2 separate regions of the Homo sapiens genome follow, and region 2 is linked to region 1. Evidence: promoter capture Hi-C in human tissues and cell types (Jung and others, 2019). All regions are on one chromosome and are shown on one strand. The core of a region is centred on a gene start or on the middle of the fragment in contact, and the rest is flanking DNA. Distances in the headings are between cores, read along the strand shown.

Evidence for each region. The method cuts DNA at HindIII sites, captures the fragments that hold promoters and counts their contacts. A contact is called where the count stands out against the background at its distance.
Region 2: a contact is called between a fragment that was not itself captured here and the fragment with the promoter of PITPNB in region 1, in 1 of the 25 tissues and cell types used here (dorsolateral prefrontal cortex).

What each region holds. Positions count from the first base shown.
Region 1 is chr22:27,914,517-27,920,505 of GRCh38, forward strand. PITPNB (phosphatidylinositol transfer protein beta) reads right to left here and starts at 4,740. Exons shown (of 12, transcript NM_012399.5): 1 at 4,656-4,740. The coding sequence starts at 4,675. TTC28-AS1 (TTC28 antisense RNA 1) reads left to right here and starts at 4,860. Exons shown (of 5, transcript NR_026963.1): 1 at 4,860-5,029. RefSeq lists enhancers at 3,940-4,925, 4,926-5,910, 5,081-5,260 and silencers at 4,191-4,510, 4,701-4,770. The HindIII fragment of the contact is 4,438 bases long and covers 3,296-5,989 here.
Region 2 is chr22:29,132,354-29,138,497 of GRCh38, forward strand. KREMEN1 (kringle containing transmembrane protein 1) reads left to right here. Exons shown (of 9, transcript NM_001039570.3): 6 at 4,989-5,321. It also overlaps the pseudogene RNU6-810P. Among named protein-coding and RNA genes, the nearest start is that of KREMEN1, 62 kb to the left of the region's middle. The HindIII fragment of the contact is 6,321 bases long and covers 1-6,000 here.

The DNA of each region.
Region 1 (5,989 bases), core at 3,490-5,989:
ATTGGGGAACTAAAACTATCATTCCTGGGTCTCAATGATCATTTGCATTTAGTGTTCCCAGGACCCCAAACAGCAGCTGCAGAGATTCTTGTGAGTAAAGAAAAAAGAGAAAACTCAACATTGAAAATTGCAGGGTACAGAACGTATTATTTGCAGATTGTCTGGTCAGGTTGCCCTGACTAAATTTTTAGTATGGTTTCATTCTCCACCTATATACTGTGCATTTTGTTTTTATGATGCTTCTTACAGAATACGTGTCTTGAATCTCATTGAATAAACGCTTCCAGAAACTGTTCCCCCACTATTCAATTATTCCTCAAGTTTACTAAGAGAAAAATAAGGAGTCGTGTAGAATTAGTAAGAAAAATTTTACTATGGAAACTACTTGAACCTTATAATAATCCCTTCCAGCATATATACAATATAAGGTTGACATGTGTTTCATCCTGTCCAAGAGTTTCTTATTGTATATACCAAAAAGATGTCATTATAGCTCCATTGCAAGCAGTCTTAAAAGATAAAATCCAAAACAGTATCATGGTATATTGTTTTATCAAAATATTGCATCTTATCTCTAGATTTTATAAGGAGAGTCCTTAATTTATTTCCACCATAAATCCTGAAAACCAAGAACATCCCTGTATATCAATGGTCTCATAATTATAGTTGGTTCCAAGACAGCAACTTCCTTTTTTGTGGGATGGGGGTATACGATCCTTCTCATACTTTCCTAATCTTATCTGTCATTTTATGGAAAATTTTCAATAGTTTTCCTCATTCCAATTTCTTTTCAGCTTATAATTTCTTTTTCTTTTTTTCTTGCAGTAAGAGTCATTTAGCTTATTGTTTGTATTAGTGACAATCTTTTTGGCCTAGGCATTCTTTTTTAATAGTCTTTCTTATTCGTAAGTATGAAGAGAGTAATAAAACCCAGATTATATCTAGTTTGCATTCCAGCTACACTTTCCATCTACTCCTTTCTCCCTACTCTCCTCAAACATCTATGTCTGAATGTTCACATTACCTCAATCTCCAACATGCACAAGTCTGTTACTCCCTCCCCTTTGACTACTGAGTTACTCGCCACTCTTTGTCTTTCTGGTAACGGTGATTCAAAAACAATGAACACTCTCAAATCCACAATGGTCACTAATTTCTACTCTCCATCAAGAATAAACTTTTTGTAAGTCCTTCTATACCTAAAAATTCCGAATCATTTCTCTTCTCAGTATACACTAACTTGCTCACTGTCCCAGAGCATAAAATGAGGGAGAGGAAGACTAGAAAGCTATAGGTTGGGAGCAGATTATCAGGACCTGGAATACTATGGTAAGAAATCCATTAAATTCATCAGGCAATAAGGAATCCCAAAAGGTTGGTCCAAGAGGTAAGTGACAACTACTGCTGACCTGAAGAAGTCATCTGCAGGTGGTTGAAAACACTGACAAGCAGGAGAAGTGGGGAAAGCTATCTTTTGGGAGGCTAGGCAAGAACTGTCACAAAGGCCTGAACCAAGATGATGGACTGCAGAGGGAATGGAAGGAAGGGATAGAGAAAGAAGAGTTAGTCTTCCCTTAAGTTTCACAAAACCAAAGAATCACTGCTGAGTAATTTTACACTCACTAACAGGAAGATCCCTATTTTTATTTAAGAACACTTTCAAGGAAATTCTTTCAAAAAATTAAAGTGACTGATTAAGACATTCAGAACAATGAGTCAAGTAACTTCTTCAAGATTTGCTTAACAAGTAAAAGGGAAAAGGAACATACAGGCTTTGATTTTCTGTTGTTATTCTAAAAGCAGTATTCAACTTTCAGTGCCAGTTGAAAATGTTCAAATGTCTGAAAATCCTCATAAAAATAATTTCCAAATGGAATCAGTAACTAGTTCTTTAAAACCAGGACTTTACATTAATGGTAACTTCATCTACTGCTTAAATAATAACTTGAAGGGAAACAGCCCACCTCGAAAGTCATTTCTAACATTTTAATTCTTATAAAAAAATAAATAGAGGGCCAGGTGCGGTGACTCACACCTGTAATCCCAGCACTTAGTGGGCGGATCACCTGAGGTCATGAGTTCCAGACCAGCCTGGCCAGCAGGGTGAAACCCTGTCTCTACTAAAAATACAAAAAATTTAGCCGGTCATGGTGGCGTGCGCCTGTAGTCCCAGCTACTTGGGAGGCTGAGGCAGGAAAATCGCTTGAACCTGGGAGGCGGAGGTTGCAGTGAGCAGAGATCATGCCACTGCACTCCAGCCTGGGCAACAGAGACTCCGCCTCAAAAAAAAAACATAAAAATAAAAAAGAATTTTATAAGACAACAAACATTTGCCAAAGTATTTTAGTTACCAATATCTTCACATAGGAATAAGCTATTCATTGCTCCTAACCAACAAGAATTTTAGAAAGTTGACTTGAGAGTAAGAAGTATCAATTTTTCATTGAACAACACTGAATTCTTTAGAGCATGTTAGGCCTAGATGCTGTGCTAGATACCGACATTACTTAAGAAACAGCTTCTACCTTCAAAAAGTCTAGGAGGAAAAAAAATCTAGGGGAGATACACATGAAGAGTTAACATCAAGAAACTTAATTTATAACTCTTTGGGAAAAATAATTAGACTTTGGGCACGTGTCAACATTCATTATCTGGGTACATTTAAATCTTCATAATGAAAGCAAATGTTTGCAAAAAGCACAGTGCGCAAATTCCCAATAGGAACTGCTTTCCAAGAGTTAGCTTCATACTACTCACATACTGTCAAAGGGATCTACTGAATACTGTGTGTCTGTAACACTTTTGGAGGGAGGAAATACTCCAATGAAAGAAAAATGACTGGATCTATTTAAAATCAGTTCTGCAACTCACTTGCTGTGTAACTTGGTCCAAGTCAATTTCCTTCTTATTTTCTCCATTTGTTTTAGTGTCTGCCACCCATCTACCCACATCATCTAGAAGTCAGAGTAATGAACACTTGTTTGATACACTGTATAAACGACTTGGAAGAAAAGTTTTATATAAACCCAATATTCAGTACTATAAATAAGCTTTAATTGAGAATTTTCACTCTACCAAAAAAAGGCAAAATGTCTCTTCTCAAAATCCCTGTCACTGACCAAAGTTATCATTTTTCATCAATTCATTAACAAATATTTACTGAGCACCTATTACATGCGAGGGACTATTCTAAAAACTGGGGATATGAGAGTGAGCAAAACAAACTCATGGCCCTTACATGTAAAAAGAGAACACAACTAGTAGGAGAAAAATAATAATAATAAATTGTATTGGCATGTTGGATGGTGATAAGTACTATGGAGACCGATAAAGCAGGGAAGACAAATACCACCCCAAATAGTGGGAACTACAATTAGGTCTTCAGAAAGGGATTCCCTGAGAAGGTGACGTCTGAGCAAAGACCTGGAAGAAGGTGAGTTAGTGTGCCAAGGGAAGAACACTTCAAGCAAAGGGAACAAAAGCAGGTGGAAAGGTCTTGAACTGAACTTATTCTAGAGTAGCAGAGGAACAGCAAGGAAGCTTGCGAAGATGGAATGGGCAAGGAAAAGGTAGTAAATGAGATCAGGGCAGGAAAAAAAAGTGTAAAGCCTTGTAGCTGTTGCAGAGGCTTTGACTTTTATTCTGGGTGAGACAGGGAGTCTTTGGGAGGTATTAAGTCTCAGAGAAGTGCATCAGTGACTTTTTAAAGGAGGTTTAAGAACACTAAAAATAAGGTGTCTGAAAAAAGCTAAATTAAGCCAAAAATATTTCTAAGAATTTAAAATGAAGAATTTGAAAACCAACGAATGGGCCATACTCGACCTCCCTAGCTGCCCAAAGGATGCTGACGACACGAACCAGCTGTGACAGACGAACATTCAGAGGCAAGCAGATTTCCGTAATGTTTACAGTCCTTGCCAGTAGGAAAAGCCGTGACTTTTCAACAAAATCACTTGGCCAGTCGGATGCACCTCGAAATCCCTCCATTTGACAGAGCACGTGTTAACTTCTAAGAAAGTAGGTGGGGCCCGGGATGTCACCTCATCTTAAAACATGCGGAAACCAAAAAGAGAAAAGGCTCTCCCGTCAAGTCAGCGGAGCTGCCCAGGAGAGCGGAGGCTTTCCGGAATCCCGGCTCCACCACGAACTTCAAGGCGCCAGCGTCCCACCGCGAGTCCTGACACGAGGGCTGCCTTCAACCGGCAAGCCCATCTCCCGCTGGTTACCAGGGGACTCCACCCCGGACGACAAATCACAGTCAGAACCAACGTGTCTCTCCCACCCTCGGACTGCGGCTCCTTCCCACCGGCGGGCCTGGGGGTGGGCCCAGACCCAGCCTGGGGGTGGGGGGTTGGGGAGAAGGCGGGTCCCAGCGGAAACTCCCGGCCGCGCCTTCCCGAGCCATGCGCTCGGGCCGGGACCCAGCCGCCTTCGCCCCGGGGAAGGGAGAGGGCGTGTTACCACGGCAATGCCTGGAGGGCCGAGGGGCGCACTCGCTGAGGGGCTTCGAAGGGGCCGGGGGAGGGAGGGGGCGCCCGCAGGGAGGGGCTGACACAGGGCTGACTCCGATTTAGGAATATCCTACCACTTCTCCATCAACAAATCTCCCATCACTGCCGTCCCACGGCCTCGCTCGCGCCCACAGACCCACTCACAATTCCTTGATCAGCACCATCTTCCCGGAACCCCCTCACAGCTGCCGCCGATACCACCGCCGCCGCCGCCGCTACCGCCTCTCACAGCGCCTGCGCGGCCCCGCCTCCCTGCCCCCCCGAGCCACCATCGCGCCTGCGTGCTTACACCCTTCCGCCGCGACCAGTCGCGTCAGCGCGCGAGGGGGCCTAGCTCCGCCCAGTTTCGTGCCCCACCCCGGGCACACGAGGCCTCCACTGCGGTTGCGCAGCCTGCCGAAGAGCGTGCGGCTTCTACTGCGGCTGCGCAAGCTCGACGCGCGCACTCTTGTCTGCTTACGAGGGCTCCTCCCTTCAGCTTTGGTCCCTCGGGGCGTCTGGGCAGCCTACGCTTTCCGGTGAGTTTTCCAGTTGGTTCTTTGGAAGCCGTTTTGCGGTGACTGGTTTTCTGCTCTCTCTCACTGCTCCGAGTCAGGGCCCACCTCCTTGACCGACACCTCACCTCCATAGTCCACATAAAAGACTCCTGACAGGTTCTGGAGGCAGCCGACGCCAGCTTCTGTTCCCCTCCCCAGCCCTTGGCAGCTCAGGTTCCGCGGGAGGACGTTCACCTGCTTCGCGGTCTCGTGGAGGTCCACCGCGGCGGAGAATCCTAAACCTCACCTGTGACTCGGCAGGATGAGCGGCCAGCACTCCCGACGGAGGCCCTCTGGGAGAAAAGAGGCCCTTGGCCTCGAGACCCAGGAAAGCGGGCTGTTCAGGAGTTGGTTCGCGCAGTTACACCGAAAGCGCCGTGGGCCTCAAAGCCGCAGCCCGGAGGTCGCTGGCTTGCTCTGTGTCAGACACGGTTCTAGGCAGTGGGGATGCATCTAGAAGCAGACACAGTCCCTGTTCTCAAGAAGCTCACAGTCTAGAGGAGACAACTCACTTGGAAAGAAAGCAGGGAGAATTTGGGGTGGTGGGGAAGTGCTATGCTATGAATACAGTGGAGTACTGGGAGAAGCAGAGGACTCAAGACAAGGGCTGTCTTAGGAGGCGGTGTTTGAGCCTAGCCTGTTAGGATGTGAGAGGGGCATTCCAGTTGGAGGGAAATATGACCCGAGGATGGAGTAAGCCTAGGGTGTTCAAGGATCAGCTAGAGGGCAGATGTGGCCAGAACATCCTAAGTGAGGGTGGGAAATGAGCTGGGACCAACTGGATTACTAGGCCATAGTAAAGAATTTGTCTTCTAAGAACCATGAGAACCTGTTGAAAGGCTATTAAGACGATTAAAATATCACGAAAACATTTTTGTATAAACATCTGGTGTATCTGATAGTGGAATACATCTGTGGAGTTAGGGCTGCCTCCAAAAAAAT
Region 2 (6,144 bases), core at 1,590-4,089, 1.2 Mb after region 1:
GACATATGTTGTCATTTCTCTTGGGTACCTACCTAGGAGTGGGATTGCTGGGTCATGTGCTAAGTGCATATTTAGCATTATAAGTCACTGCCAACTGTTTTCCAAAGTGGATGTGCCATTTTGCATTCTGACCACCAATATGTATGATTTTCATTTGCTCCACTTTCTCTCCAGCTACAGATACTTTTGTATGATCTGTTTTTTAAATGTGATCCATTCTAGTAGGTATGTAGTAGTATCTCATTGTGGTTTTAATTTGCATTTCTCTAATTACCAATGATATTGAACATCTTTTTGTATTCTTATTTGCCATCTGGTATATTCCTTTCCCCTAAAGAAATTCCTTTAGCATTTTGTCTAGTACAGGTTGACTGTCAATAGCTTCTTTCAGCTATTGTTCGAAAAAGCTTTATTTCACCTGCATTTTTTTGAGTAATTTTTGCTGGGTATTGATTTCTGTGCTGACAGCTTTTTTCTTTCAGTACTTCAAAGATATTGGTCCATATTCTTGTGACTTGTATGGTTTTTAGAGATGTCTGCTCTATCTTTATTCCCCTGTATGTAATCTTTTCCTCTTCCTTGCCTGCCTTCAAGATTTTATCTTTGGTTTTGAGGCCGGATGTGGTGGCTCATGCCTGTAATCCCAGCACTTTGGGAGGCCGAGGCGGGTGGATCACGAGGTCAGGAGATCGAGACCATCCTGGCGAACACGGTGAAACCCCGTCTCTACTAAAAATACAAAAAATTAGCCAGGCGAGGTGGCGCATGCCTGTAGTCCCAGCTACTTGGGAGGCTGAGGCAGGAGAATGGCGTGAACCCAGGAGGTGAAGCTTGCAGTGAGCAGAGATCGCGTCATTGCACTCCAGCCTGGGCAACAGAGCGAGACTCCATCTCAAAAAAAAAAAAAAGAAAAAAGAAAAAAGATTTTATCTTTGGTTTTGGTTTTCAACTTTTTTTTTTTTTTGAGACAGGGTCTTACTCTGTCACCCAGGCTAGAGTGCAGTAGTGCAGTCATGGCCCACTGCAGCCTCGACCCCCCTGGGCTCAAGCAATCCTCCTGCCTTAGCCTCCTGAGTAGCTGGGATTATGGGCATGTGCCACCATACCCAGCTAAGTTTTTAATTTTGTATAGAGATAGGGTCTCACTATGTTACCCAGACTGATCTTGAACTCCTGGGCTCAAGCAGTCCTCCTGCCTTAACCTCCCAAAGTGCTGGGATTACAGGCATGAGCCACCATGCCCAGACTGGTTTTCAACATTTAACTATGATGTGTCTAGGTGTGTCTTCTTTGTCTGTTTTTTTTTGTTTGTTTTTTTTGCTTTTGTTTTTGTTTTTAATTTTTTTGTTTGCTTGGGTTTGCTGAAATTCTTGGATCTGTAGTTTGTCACCTTTTACTGATTTTGGAACATTTTTCACCATTATCTCTTCAAACATTTCTTCTGTTCCATTCTTTTTTTCTTCTTTTGGCACTGCAATTACACGTATGTTAGACTATTTGATATTGTCCTACAGCTGTTGGGAGCTCTGTTCTCTTTGTTTCACTTTGTTTTCCCCTTTGTTTCATTTGGGGATAATTTCTATTGACCTGTCTTCATGTTTATTGATTCTTTCCTCAGCTGTGTCTAGTATCCTGATAAGCCCATCAAAGGAATTCTTCAGTGCTTGCTTCAGCAGCACATATACTAAAATTGGAACAAAACAGAGTATATTAGCATGGCCCCTGTGCAAGGATGACATGCGAATTCATGAAGCATTCTATAATTAAAAAAAAATTCATCTCCAATATTGTTTGATTTCCAGTAGATTTTTTTTTTTTTTAAGAGACAAGGTCTCACTCTGCCACCTAGGCTGGAGTGCAATGGTGCAATCATAGCTCTCTGCAGCCTTGACCTGCTGGGCTCAAGTGATCCTCCTGCGTCAGAACCCTGAGTAGCTGGGACTGCAGGCACACACCACCATGCCTGGCTAATTTTAAAATTTTTGTAGAGATGGGGTCTCACTGTGTTCCTCAGGCTGGTTTTGAACTCCTAGCCTTGAGAGATCCTCCTCCCGTGGCCCCTCAAAGTGTTGGGATTACAGGCATGAGCCACCATGCCTTGCCTCCAGTAGATTATTTACCGTATTCATCATGTAGTCTCTGTCTGATCGTTCTAGCATCTGGGTCATCATTGAGTCTAGTTCTGTAGATTGTTTTAACAATGTCTTTCCCCCCTCCCACCCTTGCTTTTATATGTGTGTTGTAATTTTTTATTGAATGCCATATGCTATGTATAGAAGAACACTAGGGGCTGAGATAGTGTTTACACCTGGGCAGATCTGCATAGTGTAGGGACTGAGCCAGTCTATCAGAAGTTGAGCTAGGTTGTTTCTATCACTACCCTCAATGCACATCAGGCTTTAAATTCCTCCAGTGACGGGCTGCTATCAGCTTGTGCTTAGTGTGGAGCCTAGAGTACCCGTGAGTTTTCCTCAGTAGCCCTGTTCCATCCTCAGCTTTGAGGAGTTCCCACATGCCTGTGCCACAGAGGGGCTCCTTCTCCACCCTCTTTCCCTCCCTCAGTGGTAGGCTATGGCTGTTTGTTACCTGGCTGTACTCATGGTGAGGTCATGGAGGTGGTTCTTGGTTCTCCTGCCCTGTCCTCAGTCTTAGACAGGATGTGTAAAGGCCACCAGCCTGAGGTCTTTTCAGCATTCCCACACCCTTCTTCTCTCCCTGGCAGCCAAACACTGCCTTGCGTCTGTGGTGGATCTTGGGAAGGAGAATTTCTTGCCCTCCCTCCAGGAGTAGTAGAGCTCTGCTTTGCATCGGCTGCAGTATCCTGGACTCAAGAGGGCTCAAGGCAATCAGGGACCAATGGCTTTTGCTTCTGTTCTTCCCCTAGAAGCAGTGAATCTTCACCTGGTTACTTTGATAGGAAGGGGAATTTCAAGGAGGCTGAAATTTGGGTTTGTGAAATGGTGTTTGGTATAGACTTTTCTAGTCAAATCAGGTCTACTCCCTCCCCCAGAGGCAAACAGATTTTGCTTCTGTCTGTTTTCAGTGGCCCTGGGAGTAACAGGATTTGCTTCCCCTCTCCCAGCTGCCGAAGGCTTTTACTTTCTTAGAGAGGAGAGTCCCTTCCTGCAAGTGTGAAGAGAAGGAAGTGGGCAGTATTCCATTCCTGTCCGCCAGTGGCAGCCTGTCACCTCCTGCACACTCATGCCACTCAGGGGGACTGTGGTCTGCTGGCCAACCCGAGTCACTTGTGAAAGCACTGAGTGGAGGTCTGTGCAGAAAAGCTCACAAGTGAGTGCAAAATGCCCGTTGTGTCTGGGACTCCCAGTTGCCCTAAGCTGAGACACTAGCCCACTCTCAGCCTTTAAGAGTTTGTTAAAATTTTAGTGCTTTCTTGTTACTTCTCTGGCGGTCACCTCTTCCTCCTGTGTTCTCTCAAAGATGAAACTGTTTGTGTGGCCTGACTCTCCTTGATGGGGCTTTGATTTTGTAGAATTAAGTTCCCCTGGTTGTCATGAGACCTCAGCTGAGTTTTAAGCTTTTTCTCATTGTTAGGATAGAAGCAGCATTCACTTGTTGTTGTTGTTTTGAGACAGAGCCTCACTCTGTTGCCCAGGCTGGAGTGCAGTAGCGTGATCTCGGCTCACTGCAACCTCCAGCTCCCGGGTTCAAGAAATTCTCCCGTCTCAGCCTCCCTAGTAGCTGGGACTATAGTCACACGCCACCACGCCCAGCTAATTTTTGTATTTTTAGTAGAGACGGGGTTTCACCATATTGATCAGGCTGGTCTTTAACTCTTGACCTCAGGTGATCCACCTGCCTTGGCCTCCCAAAGTGCTGGGATTACAGGCGTGAGCCACCGCGCCCGGACTGCTTGTTGTTTTCTACATCCTAAAGGGAACCAGAACTCCCCCAAAGCCTGCTTTTTAAATCCTAGCCCTGGCCGGGTGCGGTGGCACATGCCTATAATCCCAGCACTTTGGGAGGCCGGGACGGGTGGATCACGAGGTCAGGAGATCGAGACCATCCTGGCTAACACGGTGAAACCCCATCTCTACTAAAAATACAAAAAAAGTTAGCCAGCCTGGTGGTGGACACCTGTAGTCCCAGCTACTCGGAAGGCTGAGACAGGAGAATTGGTGTGAACCCAGGAGAAGGAGGTTGCAGTGAGCCGAGATCACACCACTGCACTCCAGCCTGGGAGACAGACGGAGACTCCTTCTCAAAAAAAAAAAAAAATAGAATCCTAGCCCTACATTCCCTCCCAAGGAGTTTCAGTTCTAAGATCTTGTTTACATTTCACCATGTAAGACAGGAAATCACTGCATCCCCTTTCTAGAACATGCCTATCAAAAACAGGAGTCCAGAGAAAGCAAATGTGCCCAGTACAGAGTGCTCAGAATCTAGCATGTTTCCTCACTGCAGAAAGTCATTTCTTGTGCTGCAGTTTCCCTGCTTGAAAACGTGGTCCCTCATGGGAGCGTTGCATGGGTACTGGGGACACACAAGCAGCTGTAAAGCCCTTCTCTTTTGACAGCTTTACCTCATCGGGTGGCTTCCCTGCAGAGTGGCCTGAGTGGTTCGTGTGCTTTGTCTCATGTGCCATCACACATTCCCGTGATACAGGAGCAGATGGTGCTCTCTCCAGCCTTGAAACTGAGAGAAGCAAGAGGCCCGCGAGTGAAGTGCGGCCCCTGCCATCACTTGGCCCTGCCAGTCCCAAGTCCAGACTCTCTGACTCCAGCCCTGCCCCAACCTAGGCCACACCACTGTGCTGTGTGCTAATTCTAAGGTCTCTGGGGGGAAAAACATCTCCACAGTCATTTTTCGAGAGTCTCAGCGATTCGTTTTGTGACTGTCAGGTTTTACAGATAGAAACAATGTCCTAAATGGGATCCTGCTCGTTAGGAAGGCTTTAGTGCCTTGGTGTTGGAAGCGCGCCTGTGGCAAAGGCCCAGACTGAGGGCGTGGTGTCTTTTTCTCTCCTACAGCTCTCGTGGGCGCCTGCGGTGGGAACTACTCAGCCATGTCTTCTGTGGTCTATTCCCCTGACTTCCCCGACACCTATGCCACGGGGAGGGTCTGCTACTGGACCATCCGGGTTCCGGGGGCCTCCCACATCCACTTCAGCTTCCCCCTATTTGACATCAGGGACTCGGCGGACATGGTGGAGCTTCTGGATGGCTACACCCACCGTGTCCTAGCCCGCTTCCACGGGAGGAGCCGCCCACCTCTGTCCTTCAACGTCTCTCTGGACTTCGTCATCTTGTATTTCTTCTCTGATCGCATCAATCAGGCCCAGGGATTTGCTGTTTTATACCAAGGTAAGACATCTTTGCCTCCTTGGGGGTTCTTCAGGGCCCACGTGCCTTGGGCTTCTCTTCTTCACCCTTGTGACTTGGGCAGTTCTTGCGGGGCAGATTGGGCCTCAGGAACTACTGACTCAACTTGCAGATCACCCCGAGGCTGTGGCTCCTTCCCTACCCCCATTTCATAACTCATTTATGTTTCATGAGACAGAAAAGAGGTGAAAACCTGTCAATTTGGCTATTTTAGTAGGTCTAATGACAGTTTTCATGGGAGGGTTAAAAGAATTTAAAAAAACAGAATAACTAAAAGGAACAGCTGAGACTGGGACAGTTGGAAGGTTATCAAAAGGTCATCTGGTCCGTCCTCCTTCCTCTAAACATCCTAGCTAATTCCAAAAGACTGGCTTGCCATCTTCAAACCCTGCTATGATGGAGCCACACTCTCTGCCTCTGTAATGTGAGCACATGTGTGCCGGGCACATCTCTTTGCCAGGACACAAGAAACACAGAAGGTGTTTGAGACATTGTCTTTGTCCTGGATAGCAAACCTCAAGAAGAGTTCAGGTAGTGTGTGCTCCAGGAGACCCATGGGAAGAGGCCCTCTCTCCAGGTGGGACAGTCTTGAGGAACAGGTAGCATTTGGATCAATAGGAAAAAAGCGAACCTTCCAGGCATAGGGAGCCATAGCTGCCAAGTACAGGGGCAGAGAAGCTGTAAACCATGCCCAGGTGTCTGAGATGAGACTAGCCACATTCTGTGAAGTTGACAGGTTCATCCTTCTGCCTTCTAAAGGGTGACAGCCTGACAGGTTCTGTTTTGGGGCTGGTGGGACCCACCT